Linked DNA regions of Homo sapiens: region 2 is linked to region 1. The links are contacts of gene promoters, found by promoter capture Hi-C in blood cells and fetal thymus (Javierre and others, 2016). All regions are on one chromosome and are shown on one strand. Each heading gives the region's core, a stretch centred on a gene start or on the middle of the fragment in contact. The rest is flanking DNA. Distances are from core to core; before and after follow the strand shown. Region 1 holds the start of CRTC3-AS1 (CRTC3 antisense RNA 1). Region 2 has its middle 4.0 kb from the start of IQGAP1.

Region 1 (5,479 bases), core at 2,979-5,478:
GCAACAGGATGAGACTCCATCTCAAAAAAAGAAAAAAGAAAAGAAAAATTAGCAACAAATAACAGATAAATGATTAATATTAAAAACACATAAAGAACATCCAGTTCCAGTGAACAAATGTTCAGGGAATATAAACACAACAGCTCACCAGAATATACAGACACTAAGTAAATTTATGAAAAAATTGTGAAATTTTTCTAATAATAACATGGAGCATCATTTCATACCTATTAAACCAAAGAGAGAGGAATATTGCGAAAATTTATAAGACAAATGACAAGCATAAAGACTGATTCACTAAAATAAATAATTTATTTAGATTTTTATTTTATTTTTTGGTAGAGACGGGGTTTTGCCATGTTGCCCAGGCTGGTCTTGAACTCCCAGGCTCAAGCAATCCCCAACCTTGGCTTCCCAAAGTGCTGGGATCATAGGCATGTGCTACCGCGCCCAGCCAGGAAATAATTTAATATTGAAAAAAGCAGGCCAGGTGCGGTGGGCTCAAACCTGTAGTCCCAGCACTCCGTGGGCAAACTGCTTGAGCCTACGAGTTCGAGATCAGCCTGAACAACACGGCGAGACCCTATCTCTACAAAAAATCAAAAGCCCATCTCTACAACAAATACAAGAATTAGCCAGGCATGGTGGTACACCCCTGTACTCCCAGCTGAGGTGGGAGGATCACTTGAGCCCGGGAGGCTGGAGCTGCAGTGAGCCCTATCTCAAAAAAAAAGAAAAGAAAAAAAAAATTCCTCAAGTGTCAGGTTTAAAAAGAAAGAAAAAAGAAAAACACTAAGTTATGAATACATTAAGGCTACAGCTACCTAAGAAATCTGTATAGCTAAATCTGTATAACTAATTTTATAGCTGAAATTTGGAAAGGACTCATGGAAAATAAAAATAGTTCAAGTGTTTGAAAGATAGGATTATGACTGGAATATTTTTCTTGACATTGAGAATATGTTTCAATAAAATACGGGAATTTTTAAAGAAAGTAAACTCAATAGTTCCCTGTCATTCCAGAGAACAAAGTCCATATGTCATAACTCCAAGAACTTTCACTCTCTGTCTTCAACTTGTATTTTTCATTCAGCTAATATCTACAGTGACTACTCTGTGCCAGGCATCATGGTAGGCACTGAAGTACAGAGATGGGAAAGACATTATTACTGCCTTCAAGGAGCTTATAGACTAGCAGAAAATAGACATGTCAACAAATAATTACAATGCAACGAGATAAGTCTGACAATCAAGTCTTTTCTTAAAAGACTATGGCTTCCCAGATTAAGGAAAAACAGGCAAATGATAGAGAAGCTTTTCAAAGAACACTGAATTGGATATTGAAGGACAAGTGGAACTTTACAGACAGGACTGAGGTTGTGAAGAAGAGTAGTCTATGAACTAGTGGTACAAAGGCTGAGGTAGAATAGTATGTGTTAGCGATACAGAATGCTCAAAAGCCTCTGGTATCATGCCAAGGAGTTTAGATTTTATCCTACAGGTAGTGGAGACCCTTAGGGGCTTTCAGCACTGAAGTCCTAGGATTATTCTACGATTATCTTGGACCTCTTTATTCTATCCATTTTTCTCTTAGAAAAAAACACATATATATGTAAATTAAAATATATATGTATATCTTTTAATTTTTAATATTTCTTACATAAAGATACAGAAAATAGAATTACACCCATGTACCCACCAACCAAATTTAAAAAGTTAAACTCGGCCCTATTCTCTCTCTTTTAAAGGCATAAAACATTTCAGGTAGATTGACTGACGGACTCTCACTCTGTCACCCAGGCTGGAGTGCAGTGGTGCAATCTTGACTAACTGCAGCCTCCTGGGTTCAAGCGATTCTCGTGCCTCAGCCTCCCCAGTAGCTAGAACCACAGGCGCACACCACCACGCCCAGATAATTTTGTATTTACTATAGAGAGGGAGTTTCGCCATGTTGGTGAGGCAAGTCTCGAACTCCTGGCCTCAGGTGATTCGCCCGCCTCATCCTCCCAAAGTGCTGGGATTATGGGTGTGAGCCACTGTGCCTGGCCTCATTTCAGATATATTTAAAATCTCACTCATGGCCGGGCGCGGTGGCTCGCCTGTAATCCCAGCACCTTGGGAGGCGGAGGCAGGCGGATCACGAGGTCAGGAGATCGAGACCATCCTGGCTAACACAGTGAAACCCCGTCTCTACTAAAAATACAAAAAATTAGCTGGGCGTGGTGGTGGGTGCCTGTAGTCCCAGCTATTTGGGAGGCTGAGGCAGGAGAATGGCATGAACCCGGGAGGCGGAGCTTGCAGTGAGCCAAGATCGCGCCACTGCACTCCAGCCTGGGCGACAGAGCGAGACTCCATCCCCCAAAAACAAAAACAAAAACAAACTCACTCATTCCAGGAATGACTATGAAAAAGGAAAAAACAGATAAAAATTTAAAAATCAAAACAATAAACTATCACTCATTCCCCTTACCTTTTTCCCTTCCCTTCCTGCTCATAGGTAATACCACCTGTCCTGAAGCGGATGTGTAGAACTTCCCAGCATGATGATGTTCTACTGCACATCTAACACTTTTCCTGATTTTTTAACTCTTGGTTTCCTCAGTAAAACGAAGGAAATAACTACTTCTCCAGGTTACTGATAGGACTGTAAACTATACTTATAAGGTACCTGTCATGGTGAGTGGCATTGAAAGTGACACAGGACCCAGAAATTTCATTTCTTCCCAGTAGATTATAAGCTACTGTCTGACAGTATAAGCAGCCCAGCTAACAAAATGTTGATTTAATTAATTCTATTTACTATTCCCCAAACAGAATACTTTTGCCTACCCGCTTCTTCATCTTCTGATCTCTCATGCAGTCTCTCGAATTCCTGTCCCTTAATCTTGACAGTGACACACCAGTGTTATTTATCTGCATGGGTGGCACAAGGAGCTGTCAGTCACCTGCTCCATCTCACGCCATGAGGTACCTAAAGTTCTGTGTGACCTAAGGACAGGTGAGGGCTATAGGAGAAAGCCTAATGTTGTGGGACATACTTTAAAATCAGGCGCTTAGTTCAAATCCTGTATCTCTAGCACTTAATCACCAAATGCTCTTTCTGTACGGAGACAACCTCTTTGTACTTCAGATTCTCCATGTCTAAAATGGGGACAATTTCATCCGCTTCTCTGGGTAATGATAACAGAACCCTTACTGTGTACTATGTAACAGGTAGCCTTCGAAGCATTTATTATTGCATATATTAAGTCGTTTAATCCTAACAAAAACGCCAGGAAGTAGAAGAGACCATTTCCCCCATATGACAGACGAAAACCAAGACACTTAGTGTTTCAGTAACGTGCAGTAGACACAGAGCTAAATGTGAAGGAGCCAGAATTCGAACCCAAGCAATCTGATGCAGTATTCTTAAGCACTTCGCTTTGCTGGGATATCGTAAAGCTACAGTTGTAAGATCAAGGGTGCCAGGAACATGGCACACAGTAGACACTCAAAAACAAGAGTAGCCCAGCTCGTGATTATGGAAGGCCACAGAAAAAGTACAAAGTGTTTTCGTTGTTCCTCAGGAGGGACACGGAGGTAGTAGTGCCAGAGGTCTGGGCTGGGATTACTCTGTGCAGGGCATCATGTTACGCACTGGAGTATATGGGCAACAACATGCCAGGTCCTAGCCCATGCTCGGCCTCCGACGCCCCGGGAGACCTTGGCAGAGTTCGCCCCCGCCCCGGGCCTCTGTTTCCCCATTTGGGAACGTATTTATGTATCTGCTGTCCTCCCAGGATGTTGGCCAGACTAGAGGACTCAGCGGGCCGAGGCGAACCAGTGCAGGAAACGGAAGAACCCGAGCGGCCTCCAGCTCCGGGCCGGGCCGCCAGAGCAGGGCTAGATCAATGCGGACCGACCCGTAGTTACGCGCGCGGTACTCACCTCGCACGCAGACTCCTAGCGGACGGAACCAGGATCCAAACTTCCCGCGCCGCAACCACGGCCGCCGCGCCAAGCCCTGGCTCACTTCCCGCCGGAAGCTTGCCTATTCCGATTGGCTGCTTCCTGGGGAAGCCGACCAATACTGTCGCACTCGGACATCTGTTCCCGCCCCCTCAGGCTGCTGGGGCGGGGTCGCCGTACAGCGCCGGGAGGGACGCGTATCTCCAAAGCCCAATCAGAGTCCGGACGGGAGGGTCAGATGACTACGGTTACATCTCGGGCTTCCGGAGCTAGTTGGGTCTTTGTTTTTGGTGTTTTAGAGTCGGTGAAGGCTTTAAAGGAAGTAGGCAGCTGGAACCCGGCTGTGGCGGGTTGAAAAGCCCGGGCGTTTGAGAGCTGAGACTTGCCAGTTCCCACAGGCCAAGCCAGGCGTCTGCACCCCATTCTCTTGGTTCCGACGGTGTGTCTCTGCGATGTTTTGGCGGTCTCTCCTCTCCATCCCCTTAATAATACTGGTCTCTGTTTCACCCGTACCCCTCTACACGAGCAGGTGCAAATTGTCATTGAACCGGGAAAGTGGGCACACACTCAGATGCCTCCATGGACACGTGAGAAACCATGCTTCTGTTTCAGCCTATTGCTGACACGCGGGAATGTGGGCCCTGTGATGCCAGATCTTACTTTCTTTCCTTTCTTCCTCTCTTCTCCCCTCTCTACTTCCTTCCCTCTCTCCTTCCCTCCCGCCCTCCCTCCTCTTTGTGTGTGTGATAAAATCTATCTAACATAAAATTCACCATTTTTAAGTGTACAGTTCACTGGCATTAAGTACATTCACATTGTTGTGAAACCATCACCACTATCCATCTCCAGAACTTTTTCATTATCCCAAATAGAAAATCTGCCTGTTACACAGTAACTCCCCGTTACCCGTTTCTCACAACCCCTTATAGCCGATATTGCACTTTCTGTCTGTAAGTGCGAGGTACCGCATATAAATTGAATCATACAATAATTGCTCTTTTCTGATTGGCTTATTTCACTTAGCATAATGTCTTCAAGGAGCATCTATGTTGTAGCATGTATCAGAATTTCTTCCTTCTTGAGGCTAAATAATATTCCATTATACATGTATACTACATTTTGTTTATCCATTCATCCATATAAATGGATGCTTGGTTATTCCCACCTTTTGGCTATTGTGAATAATGCTGCTATGAACTTTGGTATACAAATAATCATTCTCCACATAATACGCAGAAAGAGTTTTCTAAAATGTAAAAATCTGTTCAAGTTACCTCCCTCCTGAAAATCTTCTATGGTAAATTGAAACCAAAATATGATACTATTAAACACTCCATAGAATAGCTGAAATGAAAAGACTGACAATTCCCTTAGTTGCAAAGATGCAGAAATGGGACTCTCATACAGTGTTGATGGGAGTGTAAAATGGTACAACCACTTTGGAAACATCAGTCTCTACTGAAATCAAATTTACCCCTACCCTATACCCCAGAAATCCCATTTCTAGATATTTACCCCAAAAAATGAATGC
Region 2 (5,175 bases), core at 2,169-4,668, 330 kb after region 1:
CGCCCGGCCCTCTTCCGTTTATTCTTTGCCTACTCAGTAATCTTTTCTACACTCGCCTATAACTGCTGAGGACCCCTCGATATGTATCACCAGACCAGATCGTCTGGAAGTCCCTCAGTATTTTCAGCTAATGAACACTTTCACCTGTGTATAGGGCAGACACTTCAAATCCCACGTGTCAAATACTGACCCTGCTCCTGCTATATTCTCTATTCACAGAAGTACTCAATTCCCAGTGGGAACACCCCAGGCTCCTTGCCTCGCACCCTACATCCAATCTGTGTTTATTTCTGAGATGTCTACTTTTGTCTCCATCCCTGTTGTGATTACACTGTAGTCGCCCTTCTGCCAACTAGATCCTCACAGTTATCAGGGTGTTCTCTCTAAAGTGCAAATGCAATTGTGTTTCTCTTTTTAAATTTTTTTTTCTATTCCTCCCTTCAAGATAATGGGCCAAGTTCAGCATGATTTAGCATGCCAAATCATAGCCTGACTCCAGATGTTTTGCTCCAGCTATTTTCAATGTATTCACTCTTCCTTCAGACTATTAAAGATACTTGAAAACCTGTAAGAACAAAACACCCCTGTAGAAAAGTGGGCAAGGGTTTCATTTATTAAGCCTACAAAGTAAAAAGTTATTTCATTCTTAAGCTTTTAAGTTCACTTTACAAATTGTATTATTCTATTTATAAGTCTAGCACATTTTACCAAACACTTTTCAGAAACTGAATGATTTATTTATTTCGGAGGCGGGGGGGTCACATTTTTATTGGGGGCCACAGGGGACATGGTCTTCTCCATGTCAATGGAAGTGCTTGCAGTTTCTTCAACCACTCCATGCTTGGGCCTTGGGGGTGGCTGGGCATGTCCAGCATGTTCCCATCATCTCGGAGGGGCACTGGGTTGTTGTGGGGCGTGGCCTAGTTGATCCTGGTGGAGTACATGGTATAGGGGCAGACTGGGGTCAGATTTATAGCTAGGCCCCCGATGGTGAGGAACAGGACCAGCACCCGCTCCTTAGGCCAGGCATTCTTGAGAAAGGCAGCCGCAATGGCAACGAGGACATAGAGCATTCTGAAATTTCCTGAAAATTTTTTTTTAAGTCTCACTCAGTTAATTCAACATCTTCAAATATTTAAAATTATGCCTACTAGGGCAGGCACAGTGGCTCACACCTGTAATCCGAGCACTTTGGGAGGTCAAGGTGGGTGGATCACCTTAGGTCAGGAGTTCGAGAGCAGCCTGGCCAACATGGTGAAACCCCCGTCTCTACTAAAATACAAAAAAATTAGCTTAGTATGGTGACACACGCCTGTAGTCCCAGCTACTCGGGAGGCTAAGGCAGGAGAATCACTTGAACCCAGGAGGCAGAGGTTGCAGTGAGCCGAGATTGTGCTCCTGCAATCCAGCCTGGTTGACGGAGCGAGACTGTCTTTTAAAAAATAATAATAATTGCCGGGCACGGTGGCTCACGCCTGTAATCCTAGCACTTTCGGAGGCCGAGGTGGGCGAATCACGAGGTCAGGATATTGAGACCATCCAGGCTAACACGGTGAAACCCCAGCTCTATTAAAAACACAAAAAAAAAAAAAATTAGCCGGGCATGGTGGCGGGCACCTGTATTCCAGCTACTCGGGAGGCTGAGGCAGGAGAATGGCGTGAACCCTGGAGGCGGAGCTTGCAGTGAGCCAAGATCATGCCTCTGCACTCTAGCCTAGGCAATAGAGCGAGACTCCATCTCAAAAAAATAAATAAATAAAAATAAAAAATAATAATAAAGAATAAATTGTGCCTATTATATTGTCTATATTAGATTTCCTATTACATTTTCTTTTTTTTTTTCTTTTGAGATGGAGTTTCACTCTTGTCACCCAGGCTGGAGTGCAATGGTGCAATCTCAGCTCACTGCAACCTCCGCCTCCCGGGTTCAAGGGATTCTTCTGCCTCAGCCTCCCAAGTGGCTGGAATTACAGGCACCCGCCACCACACCTGGCTAATTTTATATATATATATATTTTTTTATTAGAGATGGGGTTTCACTATATTGGCCAGGCTGGTCTCAAACTCCTGACCTTGTGATCCACTGGCCTCGGCCTCCCAAAGTGCTAAGATTACAGGCATGAGCCACCGCACCTGGCCTAGATTTTCTTTTTAGTTCATTCAATCGTATAAAACTTTTTCAAAACTTTTTTTTTTTTTTGAGACGGAGTCTCACTCTGTCGCACAGGCTGGAGTGTAATGGCACAATCTTGGCTCATTGCAACCTCTGCCTCCTGGGCTCAAGCGATTCTCCTGCCTCAGCCTCCTGAGTAGCTGGGATTACAGGCACGCACCACCGCGCCCAGCTAATTTTTGTATTTTTAGTAGAGACGGGATTTCACCATGTTGCCCAGGCTGGTCTTGAACTCCTGACCTCAGGTGATCCACCCACCTCTGCCTCCCAAACTGCTTGGATTACAGGCGTGAACCACTGTGCCCGGCCTAGATTTTCTTTTTAATTCATTCAATTGTTTAAAACTTTTTCAAAACTTAGTAATTCCTATAAATAAACATACAAGCATAACAAAGCTAACATTCTCTTAGATGGCCTGATTCCATGTGTAAACTTAGTAAGCTTTCAACTCAAAAACCTAAGTCTAAAACTAACTCAATTACACATTTAAAATGATTTACAAAAAAGCTGTCATTCAAGTCGGCCAAATTTTCTTAAACATTGCGAATACATAAAATGTGAAATATTTCTTCTTCTTCTTCTTTTTTTTTTTTTTTTTTTGAGACAGAGTTTCACTCTGTCACCCAGGCTGGAGTGCAGTGGCGTGATTTCGGCTCACTGCAACCTCAGCCTCCCAAGTTCAAGTGATTATCCTGCCTCAGCCTCCTGAGTAGCTGGGCTTACAGGCGCACACGACCACACCCGGCTAATTTTTGTATTTTTACTGGAGGTGAGGTTTTGCCATGTTGGCCAGGCTGGTCTCGAACTCTTGACCTCAAGTGATCTGCCCACCTTGGCCTCCCAATGTGCTGGGGTTATAGGCATGAGCCACCATGCCCAGCCGAAATATTTCTTCTTAACTCCAACATATTAATCCAATTGTTCATTCCATAAAGGCTTTCTTTACTTAATTACAAAGTTTGTCTGAGGTGAAAGCCACAGAGATGTTAAGTTACCAACTGCACTGGTACCTTACTATACTAAGTGTTGCACATTTATTTTCTCAGCTGATCCTTGTAATAATCCCATTATGTCCATTTTACACTTGGGAAAATGGAGAACTGGGTTACTTACCTGAAGCCACACAGCAAGAGGCAGAGCTGGAACTCAAACCCAGGCCTGTCTAATGACAAAGCCCAATTCCTAGTCAATAAACTCAAGATTCAGAGAAATAGACATTAAGATAATAACATGCTGGCCAGGCACAACGGCTCACACCTATACCCCCCAGCACTTTGGGAAGCAGAGGAGAGAGGATTGCTTGAGGCCAGGAGTTCAAGACCAGCCTGGGCAAAATGAAAAACCCCGTCTCTACAGAAAATACAAAAAATTAGCCCAGCGTGGTGGCATGCTACCCAAAAGGCTGAGGTGGGAGGATCGCTTGAGCCTGGGAGTTGAGGCTGCAGTGAGCTGTGATCCCGCCACTGTGCTCCTGCCCAGGTAGACAGAGTGAGACCCATCACCAAAAAAAAAAAAAATAGAAAAGATAACATGCCACATATCACTTCTTGCCTATCATATGTAGCAACATTTTGGTTTGTCTTTTTAATTGATATTATTGGCAAGGGGGTGAAAAAGCAACCACTCTTATGCAATGTTAGTAGGCAATAAATTAATATAGTCTTTCTAAAGACCAGCTTATCATTATGCATCTATTCTTCAACCAAAAAACTTCACTTCTTGGAATGTATCATAAGGATATCGTGCTTTTATTAAATGTGCAAAAGTTATCCATGAAGATGCTCCTTGGAAATTACTCAAATGTCCATCAGTAGGTGTTTAAATCAGTGATGGCAGCTATACACAATAGAATGCCATATAGCCATGAACAGTGATGATCTGTGGTCTGGTCAGGCTTGACTGGCTACAGGAAACAGACATGCACAGTTTTACTTCTAGAGGAAAAAAGGCTGGAAGGGAGGCCTTTCTTATACAGACCTATATGGACTGGAACTGCACCAAAAACAAAACTACACTAAACAAAAAAAAACAGGACTAATGAAAGCTTGAAGTCATGGTTTCATTCTCTGGGCATCTCTGCTTTTCCACAGGCTGGCTCTACTCTCCACTCTTTGCTAACCAGCTTACTCCATTTAATTTTTTCTGTTCCCTCACAACTCTTGTTTCTGCTTGCCTTGCCATGGCTTTGACTGAAGGTCATGGTATCCTTACATCATCAGCTCCATTGAGGATCATCTCAATTGCCTAACTCCATAACCCATAGAGTGGCATATGATTGACCCAGCTCAGCTTTCCACCCTGTGGGTAAATCTCTGACCACCCACAGGCAGGCTGCCCTTAGATTGGATGCTGATCCTTTACTTCAATCAACTATGATCAGGAGATACAGATAATTAAGCATAGAGAACTATGAGCTGGGCATAATTTCCTTCAGTGGGAGGCTGGGCAGGCAAAAAATGTACAGGCTGGCAGTACAATATTTTAATATTGTGGTTAAGTTAATATATCAAATTATGACTAATAAATATGATACCATTTTGTTTTAAATGTAGCTAGATAGATAGATACATTGATGGATATGTGCATATGAATAGATAAAGCCTTGAAGTATATACACCAATATATTAACAGTGGCTTCTCCAGGCAGTGCTATTACACTGGATTTGTGTGGGGTTTGCTTGCTTGCTTGTCTGTATTTAAAATGAGCTGCTGGAAATACTATTTTGTCAGCAAATATAAATATGAATAAAATTAGTAAATATGAAATGAATAAACGGCAAAATAATGAGGTAAATGGTCATTTTGGGAGTCAAAATTGGTTAATGACCACAAAGAATTTACAAGCCAGGAGGAGTCAAGCAATATTAACAGGATATCTTGAGATAAGCACCATAATAGAAGTTTCCCTTGCTTGGAATACCTTTTAGCCTATTATCTGCCTGGGAAACTCCTACTGAACCTCCCAGACCCAATTCAAATGTCACCTACTCCCCAGGCAAAAT

The links. The method cuts DNA at HindIII sites, captures the fragments that hold promoters and counts their contacts. A CHiCAGO score of 5 or more calls a contact.
Region 2: a fragment that was not itself captured here is called in contact with the fragment with the promoter of CRTC3-AS1 in region 1 in 3 of 17 cell types (activated CD4 T cells, total B cells and fetal thymus); the score reaches 6.5 in activated CD4 T cells.

The regions. Positions count from the first base shown.
Region 1 is chr15:90,715,889-90,721,367 of GRCh38, reverse strand. CRTC3-AS1 (CRTC3 antisense RNA 1) reads left to right here and starts at 4,228. Exons shown (of 4, transcript NR_120372.1): 1 at 4,228-4,387. It overlaps BLM (BLM RecQ like helicase), which reads right to left and starts at 4,022. Exons shown (of 22, transcript NM_000057.4): 1 at 3,928-4,022. The HindIII fragment of the contact is 2,609 bases long and covers 4,028-5,479 here.
Region 2 is chr15:90,381,699-90,386,873 of GRCh38, reverse strand. It overlaps the pseudogene NDUFA3P4. Among named protein-coding and RNA genes, the nearest start is that of IQGAP1, 4.0 kb to the left of the region's middle. The HindIII fragment of the contact is 1,603 bases long and covers 2,617-4,219 here.